Linked DNA regions of Homo sapiens: region 2 is linked to region 1. Evidence: promoter capture Hi-C in 16 types of primary human blood cells and fetal thymus (Javierre and others, 2016). All regions are on one chromosome and are shown on one strand. The core of a region is centred on a gene start or on the middle of the fragment in contact, and the rest is flanking DNA. Distances in the headings are between cores, read along the strand shown. Region 1 holds the start of METTL5 (methyltransferase 5, N6-adenosine). Region 2 has its middle 33 kb from the start of BBS5.

What was found. The method cuts DNA at HindIII sites, captures the fragments that hold promoters and counts their contacts. A CHiCAGO score of 5 or more calls a contact.
Region 2: a contact is called between a fragment that was not itself captured here and the fragment with the promoter of METTL5 in region 1, in 1 of 17 cell types (M2 macrophages). The highest score is 5.3, in M2 macrophages.

Annotation. Positions count from the first base shown.
Region 1 is chr2:169,820,864-169,828,032 of GRCh38, forward strand. METTL5 (methyltransferase 5, N6-adenosine) reads right to left here and starts at 4,042. Exons shown (of 7, transcript NM_014168.4): 1 at 3,626-4,042; 2 at 1,080-1,194; 3 at 229-410. The coding sequence starts at 3,734. UBR3 (ubiquitin protein ligase E3 component n-recognin 3) reads left to right here and starts at 6,591. Exons shown (of 39, transcript NM_172070.4): 1 at 6,591-7,169. The coding sequence starts at 6,645. RefSeq lists silencers at 4,588-4,791, 6,385-6,944. The HindIII fragment of the contact is 10,424 bases long and covers 1-5,179 here.
Region 2 is chr2:169,442,412-169,449,580 of GRCh38, forward strand. No RefSeq gene overlaps it. Among named protein-coding and RNA genes, the nearest start is that of BBS5, 33 kb to the right of the region's middle. The HindIII fragment of the contact is 5,603 bases long and covers 281-5,883 here.

The sequences.
Region 1 (7,169 bases), core at 2,792-5,291:
CCACACTTGGGAAATTAAAATTTGTGTGTGTGTGTGTGTGTGTGTGGGTAGAGGCAGGGTCTAACTATGTTGCCCGGGATGGCTACCAATTCCTGGCCCCAAATGATCCTCCTGTATCAGCCTCGCAAAGCACTGGCATTACACGCCTGAGCCACTGCGCCTGGCCTTAAAAATGGTTTTAAAATCTTTTCTATAAATATACCAATATACCCGATTCTTGTTACAAACCTTTATTATTTTTGGTCCCAAAGGGAGGATTCATAATTACTGTATCGAATGACTTGGACATTCTGTTAGATAATAAGCACACATCACATTGAACCATGTCAATATTTGTTAACTCAAACTCTTCTGCATTCCTATTAAATATTTCCAATGCGTCTTCATCTATGTCAAATCCAACACACAACCTATAAATACAAAACACATACAAAGAGTGGCGACTTATAGCTCCCAAGTAAAAACAAAACCAAAATTAGCTGTTTTTTTTTTAAACCATATATCTTTTTAACCCAATTAGCAAAGTAAGAGTGAGTGTTTTCTTCTTTTTTTTTTTCTTTTTTCAGACAGGATCTTGCTGTGCCACCCAGGTGAGTGTAGTGGTGCCATCTTGCACTGCTCAAGCAATCCTCCCACCTCAGCCTCCCAAGTAGCTGGGACCACAGGCGCACACCACCACATCCAGCTAATTTTTGTATTTTTTGTAGACATGGGATTTCACCATGTTGCCCAGGCTGGTCTCAAACTCCTGGGCTCAAGTAATCTGTCCACCTTGGCCTCCCAAAGTGTTGGGATTACAGGCATGAGCCACTGTGCCCAGTCAAGTGTAACAGCATAATTTCCAAACCCGGCAGGGGTTGGAAACTCAGGTTTGTATAAAAGGAACTGCTGCTTTCACCATTTTTATTTAATTTTTGTAGTTTGTTTAGATCTTCTGCCCATTCAAAATGTATTCAGTATCAGATTTTTGCTCCCTATATCTCATTCTGTGGAGTCTCATAAATATAATTCAGTTAATCCCATTGATGCTCCTTATTAAAGCCACCCAATACCCAAATAGCATATATTGCATTACGTACCCTGCTCCTAACATTGCAGTTCCGATGCTAAGTACTCCACAACCACATCCTAGATCTGCAACGACTTTATTTTCAATGTCATCATAAGTGTTATGGATTGTATAGAGCATACATGCTAAAAAATAAAAAAAAAAAGAATAAGTAAGCAAGCCGGTGACTAAAATCTAATTTGTGCAAATGACTCTTTCTAAAATAATTTCTTGTGTTGCATTACTTAGTCCTCCCCAAATGCCATTCCAGATTATTTTTGTAAAAGATAAGGGGTAATGATTTGGTATGTAGTAAGAGGCACCATAAAGGAAGCTAATACCCACCAGTGTTTCTCAAAAAATAGTCTCTGCTAGCAATGCCAAGAATGACAAAACTGTGCCCAGTCTCTGAGGTAAAATAAAAAAAAGTCAAAACGTTTAGTTTTTCCTCAGCTTGTTAAAAACATTGCCATATACTCATATCGGTTCTTTCTTTGATGCTGAAATATTTTTAAGAAAGAATGGTAAGAGTAAATAGTTTTTAAAAAAATCCTTTTTTGTCAACATAAATTTGGCAACTCTATCAATTTCCAAAATTGTTTTGAAATTTTACTTATCTGTGAAATCTATAAGACTAGGAACCACTATCAAACAAGCATTAGCATCACAAAGACATAGAATCTTTTTTTTTCTTTTTTTTTTAAACACAGGTTCTCACTATATTGCCCACGCTGCTCTCGAACTCCAGGGCTCAAGTGATCCTCCCGCCCCGGCTTTCCAAAGTGTTGGGATTACAGACATGAGCCACTGTGCCTAGCCACAGAACTTTGTTTTAACAAGTTTGTCACCAGAACACAAGCACCATAAGCTCCACAATGTAGCCTTTAGACACATATACTCATGATCTACAGACATATATATTCATAATCTACAAATGAGACCTGATAATAGAACTACTGGGTGTTAGATACACACTGAAGGTCAAACATGAATACCACCACCACCGATATTTCCCTGAAGATATCTGAACCCAGCAAGGACTGTTGGCCACTGATTCCTGCGGATCCAGAAGTTTTTTGTTGTTTTTTTTCAGAGACAGGGTCTATCTCTATCACCCAGGCTGGGGTGCAGTGGCGGATCAGAGCTCACTGCAGCCTGAAATTCCAGGGCTCAAGCAATTCTCCTGCCTTAGTATCAGCAGCTGGGACTATAGGCACATACTACCACACTAGGCTAATTTTTTTTTTTTAAGAGCTGGGGTCTCACTGTATTGCCCAGGCTGATCTTGAACTCCTGGGCTCGTCATCCTCTTGCCTTGGCCTCCCAAAGTGCTGGGATTATAGGGGTGAGTCACTGTACTTGGCCAGATTGTTATTATTTTTTAAACTGGATTCCACTAAAAAAACCTACAGTCAGAAGACTAGTAAGTCATTATTTGAGAAAACTGGTCTTAACCTAGACACAGTAGTTTTGTGTGAATTTTTGGTTGGAATCATGACAGTATCTTGGAGTTAAGTGTAAATACACATGTATTCTCCTTGACTTTCATTGACAACTTAGAAACAACTATTTTGGAACTGGAAAAAACTCCTTGCAGGTACTCTCAGAAAATTAATTTTCCTAAGGAGCCAGCCTCAGTGGCTCATGCCTGTAATCTCAGCACTTCTTGAGGCCCCAGTGGGAAGATCGCTTCAGCCCAGGAGTCTGAGACCATCTTGGGCAACATAGCAAGACGCTGTCTCTACAAAAAATAAAAAATATTAGCCAGGCATGACGGTGCATGCCTGTAGTCCCAGCTACTCGGGAGGCTTAGGTAGGAGGATCACTTGAGTCCTGGAGGTCAAGGCTGCAGTTGCCGTGATCATGCCACTGCACTCCAGCCTGGGTGACAGAGTGAGACCCTTATCTCAAAAAATAATAATAATAAAATTTTTTTCCCCTAAGGTTTCCCAATGACTTCGGTAACATAAATATATGTTGTCCTGTATTCTCTCTTGTACTCCCAGTATCAATATCTGGCATGAAGCAACAATGCTAATGCTCAGAAAATCTGTTAAAATATGCATGCTCATCTTTACACAGCACATACTCTGATTTTGTTAAACTATCATTCCACTATCAACTCTGGTATTCATTTCTAGGGCAGAGTATATAGCACAAGAATCCTTGCGTAGGCAATTAGTAGCAATGGGAAACTGATCCTTATTTAGTAAATGTTTACTGAGCTCCTAAATAGTACCAGCGACTCTTCTGGGCACTGGGAATTCAAGTATGAACAAGTCTAACAAATTCCTTGTCCTCAGAGATTGTAATGTGAGAAGAGAAAAAAACACATTAAAAAGATGTCTGGCAGTGTTAAGGGATATGCAGAAAACTAGACAGTAAAATGATAGTGTGTATGTCTGTGGAGGGTGTGCCTTGAGCTGCAGTGTCAAGGAAGGCCTCTCTAACGCGACAGGTGATCTTAGGGCAGAATTTCTCTAGACATTCTCTGTATCCAAATAACTGTTCTATTTTTATCACAGAGTAGACTGGACTAACGCCGAAAGCCGGGGCGTGGTGAACCAGCCGCCCTACCTGCAATGTGCGGCCTGGTAGGATACTGTTCCAGAAGTAGCTTGGGCTTTTCAAATCCATCCACTTGTTGCAGGCGACTCTCTAGTTCCTTAAGCCTTACTTTCTTCATTTTGTTTTAAAGTATGGACTCGTAGGGTTTGAAGGCACAGGATCTGCGGAGAAATCTATTGAACTGGGATCTTGTTTCCTCCCTACCCCCAACCTTCTCCCTTTTTCAGCACCGCTGGCCGGACCCGAAGACGCGCCCTAAGGAGACGCCCGGACGCAGGGCACGGGGCGAGCCTCTGACCCACCTCCCGGCTAACCCAAGCCGCCCCAGGAGACGGCGGCGGCGCACTGCTGGAGCAGCCTCAGGATCCCTCGCGCCACGACCACGCACCTCTGGAGGCGACCCGCACCTCGGCCGGTGCCGGAAGCGCCAGGCCGCACGCGCGCACGCGTTCGCCGCCCAGCGGCCCGGCGCCGAGCTGCAGCGTTTATCTTGAGCCGGGGTTCCGCTGGCCACCTGGGGGCCTCATTGCCCCATCCCCTCCGCCTGCAAAGCCTGCGCTACTTGCTGACCCACCGCCAGTCCTCGCCGCCTGTCGCGTGCTCATTACCCTCTAGTTTGCCATGAGTACCTGCGGGCCCTCAAAGGATGGGGAAAGACAGAGTGAAAGGGATGCGGGAGAGAAAGTCACAGTCACTTTGTTGTATGGCCCAGAGTGACTCTTCTTGTTTCCCAAGTCTCGGCTCAAAAAGTAGCGATCTCCATTCACCTTTACCTCCTTCTCCATTCTCATGCCTTATTTTATTGTAACTTTGTTTCCCAATTTTTAGGTCATTTGTGTCACTTGCAATTCTCACAGGAGTGGTGATGTCAAAGAAACCCAAAGAAGAGATAGTGGAGAGGCAGGGCGCGGCGGCTCACGCCTGTAATCCCAGCACTTTGGGAGGCCGAGGTGGGTGGATCACGAGGTCAGGAGATTGAGACCATCCTGGCTAACACGGTGAAACCCTGTCCCTACTAAAATTACAAAAAAATTAGCCGGGCTTGGTGGCGGGCGCCTGTAGTCCCAGTTACTCGGGAGGCTGAGGCAGGAGAATGGCGTGAACCCGGAAGGCGGAGCTTGTAGTGAGCCGAGATCAAGCTACTGCACTCCAGCCTGGGAGACAGAGCGAGACTCCGTCTCAAAAAAAAAAAGACAGTGGAAATGAAAATAAAAGAATAGGTAGTGGTGTCAAATACTGGAAAGAGGTCGGGCTTCATAAAGTAGGAGCAGAAATTAAGTTGTAGCAGATTGTGGAGCGAATGGAAATTTAGGAAGAAGAAAGAGTAAATGTGAACAATTAAACGTGGCCCCGGAAGCGGTGGCTCACCCCTGTGATCCCAACATTTTGGGAGGCCGAGATGGGCGGATTGCTTGAGACGGGAGTTTGAGACCAGCCTGGGCAACATAAGGAGACCCTGTCTCTACTAAAAATACAAAAATTAGCTGGGTCTGATGACGCGAGCCTGTGGTCCCAGCTGCTCGGGTGGCTGGGGTGGGAAAATCGCTTGAGCCCGGGAGGCAAAGCTTCCAGTGATCTGAAATTGCGCCACTGCACTCCAGTCTGGTCGACAGTGAGACCCTGTCTCAAAAAAAAAAAAAAAAAAAAGAAAGAAGAAAAGAAAGAGAAAGAGAAAGGTGGCCTACGAAAAGAATGGTTGGATGCTTAGTAATGGGGGAAGCTTTATTATTTTTTCAATTATTTTTAAGACAGGAGGAGACAAATTCTGACAAGAATTGAGCTAATAGAAAGAGAGGGGTTAAAAATGCAAGAGGATATTGGATGGAGTTGGGATCCTGAGAAGGCAGGATCCAGTGGTTAAGTAAAAGGATTGCAGGATTGCGTTTAAGCCTGTGGATGGACACCTCTTTGCATTATTATAGGAAGAAGAAAAAGAGTGAATGGACGATGACGAAGTAGAGAAGTGTCTGAGGCTGCTACTTCTAGGAATAGCAGAATTCAAAGTTATCTGTTATGAGAATCAAATGAGTTAAAACATACAAAGTTTTAGCATGTAAAGTTAATACATAAAGTTTTATTTAGTTTATAATTTAGTGATTCGTAAAATTATTGAGCAAATTTAACTTATCACTGTTATATGATGATCGTGACATACTTAACTCATGTAGAAGACCAGGAATAACCTGTTTTAATTATGTTTCATTCATTTCAAACACAAGGTTATGGATTGGAAACACTCCTGTTCTTCTTTGTTGTTGTTGTTGTTGTTGTTGTTTTTAGAGACGGAGTCTCGCTTTGTCACCCAGGCTGGAGTGCAGTGGCGCGATCTCGGCTCACTACAACCCCCGCCTCCTGGGTTCAAGTGATTCTCCTGCCTCAGCCTCCGGAGTAGCTGGGATTACAGGCGTGCGCCACCATGCCCGGCTAATTTTTGTATTTTTAGTAGAGACAGGGTTTCACCATGTCAGCCAGGCTGATCTCAAACTCCTCACCTCAAGTAATCCGCCTGCCTCGGCCTCCCAAAGTGCTGGGATTACAGGCGTGAGCCACCGCGCCTGGCCTTCTGTTCTTCTTTGGATTGCTTTTCCTACAGTTTTTGTTTTCCTTAAGTTGGGGTTTCATTCTGTCGCCCGCTGGACTTTGATAACAGTAGGAATGTACATCTCAGACAAAATGCAGATGCCTAAAGTACATCTGAAAGATGATGTGAATAATTCCTGTAGTCTATGCAAATAAAGAAATAATTGCCCTTATTAAAGATTTCCTATAAGGTGAGTACTTTATTTCAGTAGCTCTTAACTTAGAAAGTTGGGAGCCTAGCTTGGTCCACAGGCGCCCAGGAGAGAGGGGCGGGAGGAAGGCTCTGCAGCCCGAGGGGGCGTGTGTAGGGGCGGGGCTGCGGGCGGAGGAGCGCGGACGCTCCGGGTATCGCGAGAGTTGGGCGGGCCGAGCAATCGCAGCAGTCTATTCCCTCACTCTCCCTGGAGGAGCCGCTGGCCCTGGACTCTCCAAATTCTGAGCTCTCATCATGGCGGCGGCGGCCGCGGCGGCCGTCGGGGGCCAGCAGCCGTCACAGCCCGAGCTGCCCGCGCCGGGGCTGGCCCTAGACAAGGCGGCCACCGCCGCGCACCTCAAGGCGGCCCTCAGCCGGCCGGACAACCGCGCAGGTGCTGAGGAGCTGCAGGCGCTGCTGGAGCGGGTGCTGAGCGCCGAGCGGCCGCTGGCCGCGGCTGCCGGCGGCGAGGACGCGGCGGCGGCCGGAGGCGGGGGCGGTCCGGGGGCGGCCGAGGAGGAGGCCCTGGAGTGGTGTAAGTGCCTTCTGGCGGGCGGCGGCGGCTACGACGAGTTCTGCGCGGCGGTGCGGGCCTACGATCCCGCGGCGCTCTGCGGCCTGGTCTGGACAGCCAACTTCGTGGCCTACCGCTGCCGGACGTGCGGCATCTCGCCCTGCATGTCGCTGTGCGCCGAGTGCTTCCACCAGGGCGACCACACCGGACACGACTTCAACATGTTCCGCAGCCAGGCCGGGGGCGCCTGCGACTGCGGGGACAGC
Region 2 (7,169 bases), core at 1,832-4,331, 380 kb before region 1:
ATGGACCCCTTTTTCTTTATGTAATGCCCTCCCTCTCTGTCAGAATGCATGTAGGGCAACATAGTGAGACCTTCTCTCTTAATCAATAAATAAATTTTTAAAAAATACATGGGTGGAAAAAATGATAGCCTTAATTAAAAAAAAAAAACTTTAAAGCTAGAGTGACTATTTAATAGCAGAGAAGAATTCAGAGCAAAGACAATTACCAGGGATAAAAAGGGACATTGTCCATTAACCAAGAATATATAACCATCCTAAGTGATAATATACCTAGCAACAAAGCTTTAAAATACATGAAGCAAAAACTAACAAAACTGGAAGGAAAAATGGACAAACCCACAATTATAGTTGAAAATTTCAACTCTCCTCTTTCAGTAATCGTTAGAACAAGTAGACAGAAAATCAGCAAGGACACAGAACTGAACAATGCTATTAAAGAACTGTATCTAATCAACATTAATAGAATATTTTACCCCATAACAACATGATAGTCTTTATATAGGCACACAGAATATTCATCAAGATAGAGCATATACTAGGTCATAAAATAAACCTTATCAAAAGTAAAAGAGTTGAAATCACACAAAGTTCTTTGGCCATAAGAAAATTAAACTAAAAATCAATAATACCAAAAAAAGTTTTAAACACTTTTAAATTAAACAGTAGATCTTTAAACAACCCACAGATCAAAGAGGAAGCCTCAGGAGAAATTAGAAAATACTTTGAATTAAATGAAACATAAAATAAAATGTAAAAATTTGTGGTGTACAGGTAAAGCAGTGTTTAAAGGTGAAATTATACCCATTATGTGCTCATATTAAGAAGAAGAATGATCTCAGATCCACTAGCTAAGATTCTATTTTTAAAAACTAGAAAAAGAAGAGCAACATATGTTCAAAGCATGCAAAAGGAAGAAAATAATAAAGGTAAAAGCAGAAATCAATGAAATTAAAACTAACCAAACCAAAAAAGGGCAACTGGAAGAAAGAAGACTAGACAAAATAAAACCAAAAGCTAGTACTTTGAAAAGATCAATAAAATTTAAAATTCTCTATCAAGATCAACAAAGAAAAAAGGAGAAAAGACACACATTATCAATATCAGGAAAGAAAGATGGGATCACTATAGACCCCACAGATGTTTAAGGTATAAGGGAATGCTACCATTCTAAGCACATAAATGGAACAACAAAGATGAAATGAACCAGTTCCTTAAAACCTCAAAATACCAAAATGCAACCAAGATGAAATAGACAATCTGAATTTTTCTGTAACTATTAAAGAAATGGAACATGTCGTTGAAAACCTTCTAAAAAGAAACTTCTAGCTCACGCCTGTAATCCCAGCACTTTGGGAGGCCAAGGTGGGCAGATCACGAGGTCAGGAGATCAAGACCATCCTGGCTAACACGGTGAAACCCCGTCTCTATTAAAAATACAAAAAATTAGCCGGGCATGGTGGTGAGTGCCTGTAGTCCTAGCTACTCAGGAGGCTGAGGCAGGAGAATGGCGTGAACCCGGGAGGCGGAGCCTGCAGTGAGCCAAGATCGGGCCATTGCACTCCAGCCTGGGTGACAGAGCGAGACTCCGTCTCAAAAAAAGAAAAAAGAGAAAGAAAGAAATTTCTAGACTCAGATGGTTTCACTGGCAGATTCTATAAAACATTTAAAGAAGATATTACATCAATTCCATACAATCTCTTCCAGGAAAGAAAAGAGAAGTGAGTTCTTCTCAGCAAAGTTTATGAGGCTACTAGCATTATCCTGATAACAAAACCAGAAGATGATGATAGTACATGAAAACTATACAACAATAGCCTTAATGATGAGAGGCACAAAATATTATTGAATCTAATTCAGCAAGTATAAAACATGAAAAATATACCACAACTAAGTGGAATTTATCCTGGGAAAGCAAGGCTGGTTCAATATTTTTAAAATTAATCAGTGTAATCCACCATATCAATAGCCTAAAGAAGAAAAACCATATGATCAGATCTCGATTGCTGCAGAAAAAAAAGCATTTTCTAAAACTCAACATCCATCTCAGATAAAAATCTCAGCAAATTAGGAATAGATGGGCTTTTTCTCAATCTGATAAACAGCATTCTCAAAAAAACAAAACTACAGCTAACATCATACTTAATCATGAAGACTGAATGCTTTTCCTCTAAAGTCAAGAACAGAGCAAAGACTTTTAACACTCCAATTTAGCATTCTACTAGAACTCCGAGCCAGTAGAATAAAACAAGAAATAAATAAATTAAATTAAATGCACACAGATTGAAAGGAAGAAATAAAACTGTTTCATAAACAACGTAAAAATCCCGAGGAATTTACCCAAAAAAAAAAACCCTCCTAGATCTAAGTGAATTTAGCAAAATAGCAGGCTACAAGGATAACACATAAATATCAATTATATTTTCATTTACTAGCAATAAACAAAGGGAAACTGAAGTTTAAAACACAATACCACTTATAATATGTCCAAAAAATTATATACCTAGGTATAAATCTAACAAAAATTTTTAAAGGCTCTGTATGCTGTAAACCTCAAAGCACTGATTTTAAAATATCAAGATCTGTATGAATAGAGAGACATACCATGTTCAAGTACTGAAAGACTCAACATAATAAAGATGTCAATTGATCCATATGTTTAATGCATTCCAATCATAATCCCAGCAACATATTTGGCAGATATAGACAATCTGATTCTAATATTTATATGCAAAAGCAAAGGAACTAAAATAGCCTAAATAATTTTGAAAAGGGGGAATAAAGTTGGAAGAATCACACTACTGTATTTTAAGATGTACTACAAAGCTACACCAGCATGGCACATGTATACATATGTAACTAACCTGCACATTGTGCACATGTACCCTAAAACTTAAAGTATAATAATAATAAAATTAAATTAAATTTAAAAAAAACAAAGCTACAATAATCAAGAGAATGTAGTATTGGCAAAGGAACAGACACATAAATCAATGAAACATAATAGAGTCCAGAAACAAAACCATACATATATTAATTTTGACACACATGCAAAAGCATTTCAGTGGAGAAAGGATAGTCTTTTCAACAAATAGTGTTGGAAACATTGAGTATCCATGTGCAAGACAATGACACTCGACTCATAACTTGCACCATATATAAAAATTAACTCAAAATGGGTTATAAATCTAAATGTAAAACCCAAAGTGATACAATCTTTAGAAATATATATAAATAGAACTTCATGACCTGGGTTTAGGCAAAAAGTTCTTTGATAGGACACTAAAAATGTAATCTATGAAGGAAAATATTAATAAATTGGACTTCAAACAAATTTAAAACTTTTACTCTGCAAAAGATGTTCACTGTTAAGAGAATGAAAAAAAAGCTACAAACTGGGAGAAATTATTTGTAAATCGTATGTCTGGTAAAGGACTTCTATCCAGAATTTTTTTTAACTCTCAAAATTCATTAGTAAAAAAACAAACAGTTAAAAGATGGAAAAAGGCCTGAGGCAGTGGCTCATGCCTGTAATCCCAGCACTTTGGGAAACCCAGAGGGGAGGATCGCTTGAGCCTAGGAGTTCAAGACCAGCCTGGGTAACATAGTGAGACTCCCATCTCTACAAAAAAAAAAAAAAAAAATTTAATCAGTATGGCATGGTGGTACATGTCTGTAGTCCCAGCTACCTAGGAGGCTAAGTGGGAGGATCACTTGAGCTCGGAAGTTTGAGGGTGCAGTGAGCTATGATCACACCCCTGCACTCAGCCCTGAGCAACAGAGCAAGACTTTGTCTCTTAAAAAATAAATAAATAAAAGATGGAAAAAGATGTGTACAGATATTTCACCAAAAAGGATACACAGAAAGCAAATTAGCACAGTACAACATCTAACATCTTCAGCAATTAGGGAAATGTCGATTAAAACCAGGATGAAATATCACTAAACTCCTAGCTAAAATAAAAATTACTGACAATACCAGGTGCTGACAAGGATGCAGAACAACTAGAACAATCATGTGTTGCTGGTGGAAATTCAAAAACAGCTACTCTGAAAAATCATTTGACAATTTTTTATAAAGTTAGATATAGCCCAACAATTTCACTTCTAAGTATTTACTTTAGAGAAATGAAGACATATTCACACAAAAACTTGTACTTGACCATTTTTAGCAGTTGTATTTATAATTGCCCAAAATTGGAAACAGCTAAATGTCCTTAAACTGGTGAATGGGTAAATAAACTCTGGTACATCTACACAATGGAATACTACTCAACAATAAAAAGGAACAAACTACTGATACATGCCACAAATTGAATGAATCATAAAGGCACTATGCTGAGTAAAAGAAGCCAGTTTCACAAGGTTACTGTGATACAGTGAGAAATACATATTTGGTCTTTGTCCCTGGTTCCTGACACAGAGCTCCTAAAACTTCCTGAGTGATGGGGATGATAGGAATGTCTTTTGTCGTTCATAACAAGCCCCTTTCCACCATATTTGAGTTTATATTAATAAAGTGACTTAGTGGGCTCCTAGATAGCTTCAGGATGGGGACTGGTTGCTAGAGGAACCAATTACGTGATTACATGGTTGGGACTTTCGGCCCCATCCCCAGACCTCTAGGGAGGGGAAAGGGAATGGAGACTGAGTTAATCACCAATGGCCAATGATTTAATCGATTTTGCTTATGTTTATAGATGGAACCTCCATAAAAACACTCAACAATGGGGTTCTGAGAGCCTCCAGGTTAGTGAACACATTGAGGTGCTGGAAGGGGTGGTGCACCTGAGAGGGCCTGGAAGCTCTGCACCCCTTTGCCCTTACCACACCCCGCACATCTCTCCCATGTGGCTGATCCTGAGTTGTATCCTTTATAATAAACTGGCAACAGTAAGTAGAGCACTTTCCTGAGTTCTGTGAGCCATTCTAGCAAATTATTGAACGTGAAGAGGGGGTTTTGGGAACTCACTGACTTTATCCTCTGTCAGCCTTAAGTATGGGTGGCCCAGAGCAGAGGCTGTCTTGTGATATTACACCCTTAATGAGTAGAATCTTTTCCAACTCCAAGCATCAGTGCCTGAAGTGAATTTTAGAACACCGAGTTGGTGTCCAGAAAGTTGGGGAATTGGTTAGTGTGAGAAAAAAAAAATGCACATTAGATGTCAGAAGTGTTGTGAGTAAAAACAATTGAGAATTACATTCTGAATGATTCCATTTATGTAACATTCATGAAAAGACAAACTTTTAGTAATAGAAAACAGATTTGTAGATTCCAGGGCTAGGGGGTCCCAGGAGGCTATGACAGCAAATGTGTAGCGGGAGGGAGGTTTTTGGAGTGATGGCACTGTTCTAGGTCCTGATTACGGCAGTAGTTACACAAATCTATACATGTGTTAAGACTCATAGAATTGCACACTAAAAATGTCCCTTTTACTATATGTTAATTTTTTAACTATGTAAATATTTTAAAGATAGGACAGTTTTTGTTGAATACAGCTCAGCCGTGCCAAAAGTATGACTTAACCATCAAAAGAAACAGCTTGAGATGCATTAATGGAAGTATTCAATCCAGAACAAACAAAGCTACAGACCCACTGGACTCTAAAGTAGCCAGACTGCATCTATAATATTGTGTTTTATTTGGGACATTGATAAAAATCAACAGCATCTAAAGGAAGGTGACCAAGATGATTAGAGGATGATAGAAAGGATTAGGACTATTTAGCCTGGAGAAGAGAAGGAATGACATGGTAACTCTCCTACTATATTAGAAAAATGTCCAAGTAGTTTACTGAGGCCTATTCTGTGTTACTCTTGAGGGAAAAAACTGTGTCCCCCAGGGAGTAGTTACAAGAAGGCAGATCTCAAACCACTATACAGGAAAGCTTTCTATCAAGTTGAGAATAAATAAAACGACCTGCCTAGATAAGCAGTGAGCCTCTCGTCATTGGCTGGAAATCACTGAAAATGTTCAAGCAGACGTTAAATAACCATCTATCAAGGTTATTGTCAAAGGGATTACTTCACTGAGTAGGAGAATGATCTATTTAACCTCTAAGGTCTCCTGCAACTCCATCTCCTGTATTCTGTTATAAATGATGCTCTAAATCACCCTTACCCTATGTGTATCTCCAACTCCCTACACCTCATTACAGTGTATACAGGGCTCACAAAATCCCCATGGACTCCTGCTAACACTGACTGTCTTAAGACAGCCTTCATGGCTGCTTTAATGATTTCCAGCCAGCAATGGGGGAGAAGATATGCTGAAGAACATGGGAAAAAAACTAAAATTTCTGTAGAGAATGGATAGATAACTTTTAACCAGGATATATAGAAAATTTTTGACTCTGCTCTGTTTGATAAGTTATTGTATCAGATCCAAAATGAACTACTACGAGCCTTAAGACCTATTTCGACTTCCCTGTTCTGGCCCCTGCTCTAGTCTAGACGAGGAAACTGGGAAGCCCCATGTCCTGAAAGTTACCATATGCAAAATAATTCCCATATTCTTTCCTACTCTTTTCAGTTCTTTAAATATCACTCTTTATATTTTCCTCTCTAGTTTTCTCAGTGAATTATCTAGGCCCGGATCTTTCAAAAGTCTAACTACAAATTAGGATGAGAGGGACTAGTTAAGGTTACAGTGGACTGGATCAGGGCAGGCAAGAGGGTTAGCTTCAAGCTAACAAAAATTGGAACAAGGGGATGGCTGTGGAGATTAGTTTTCTCTGGCAGGACATGAGTCAGGGAAACTGATAAGGATTTGGATATCTGAATTTGGAAGGGCAATATTTAAAGCAGTTGATCAGGCACAGGATAGACATGATTTCAATCAGAGGTTCTGTGTCACCCCAATGCTTCTAAGAGAGATGAGTTGAACTGCCCACGTCCATGACCATCATGATGCCTTTCCGCATCAGAGCCCATGGGCCTACCTGGTTGACCCCATCCTCTTGTTGAAATTCGATTACAAATTATTTATATCATCAGATGCAACTTTACTCTTTTCAGGGTGTTAATGAAGTTATTATAGTTCCCTTTATCAAGTCCATTATTGAATTTAAGTCTGTTTGGCAGACAAAAGTAGTCTATGATATTAGAAGTCAGATTACTTATTGCAGCAGGTAATCACTGCAAGCTAGCATAGGAGGTTTCTGGAGTGTTGG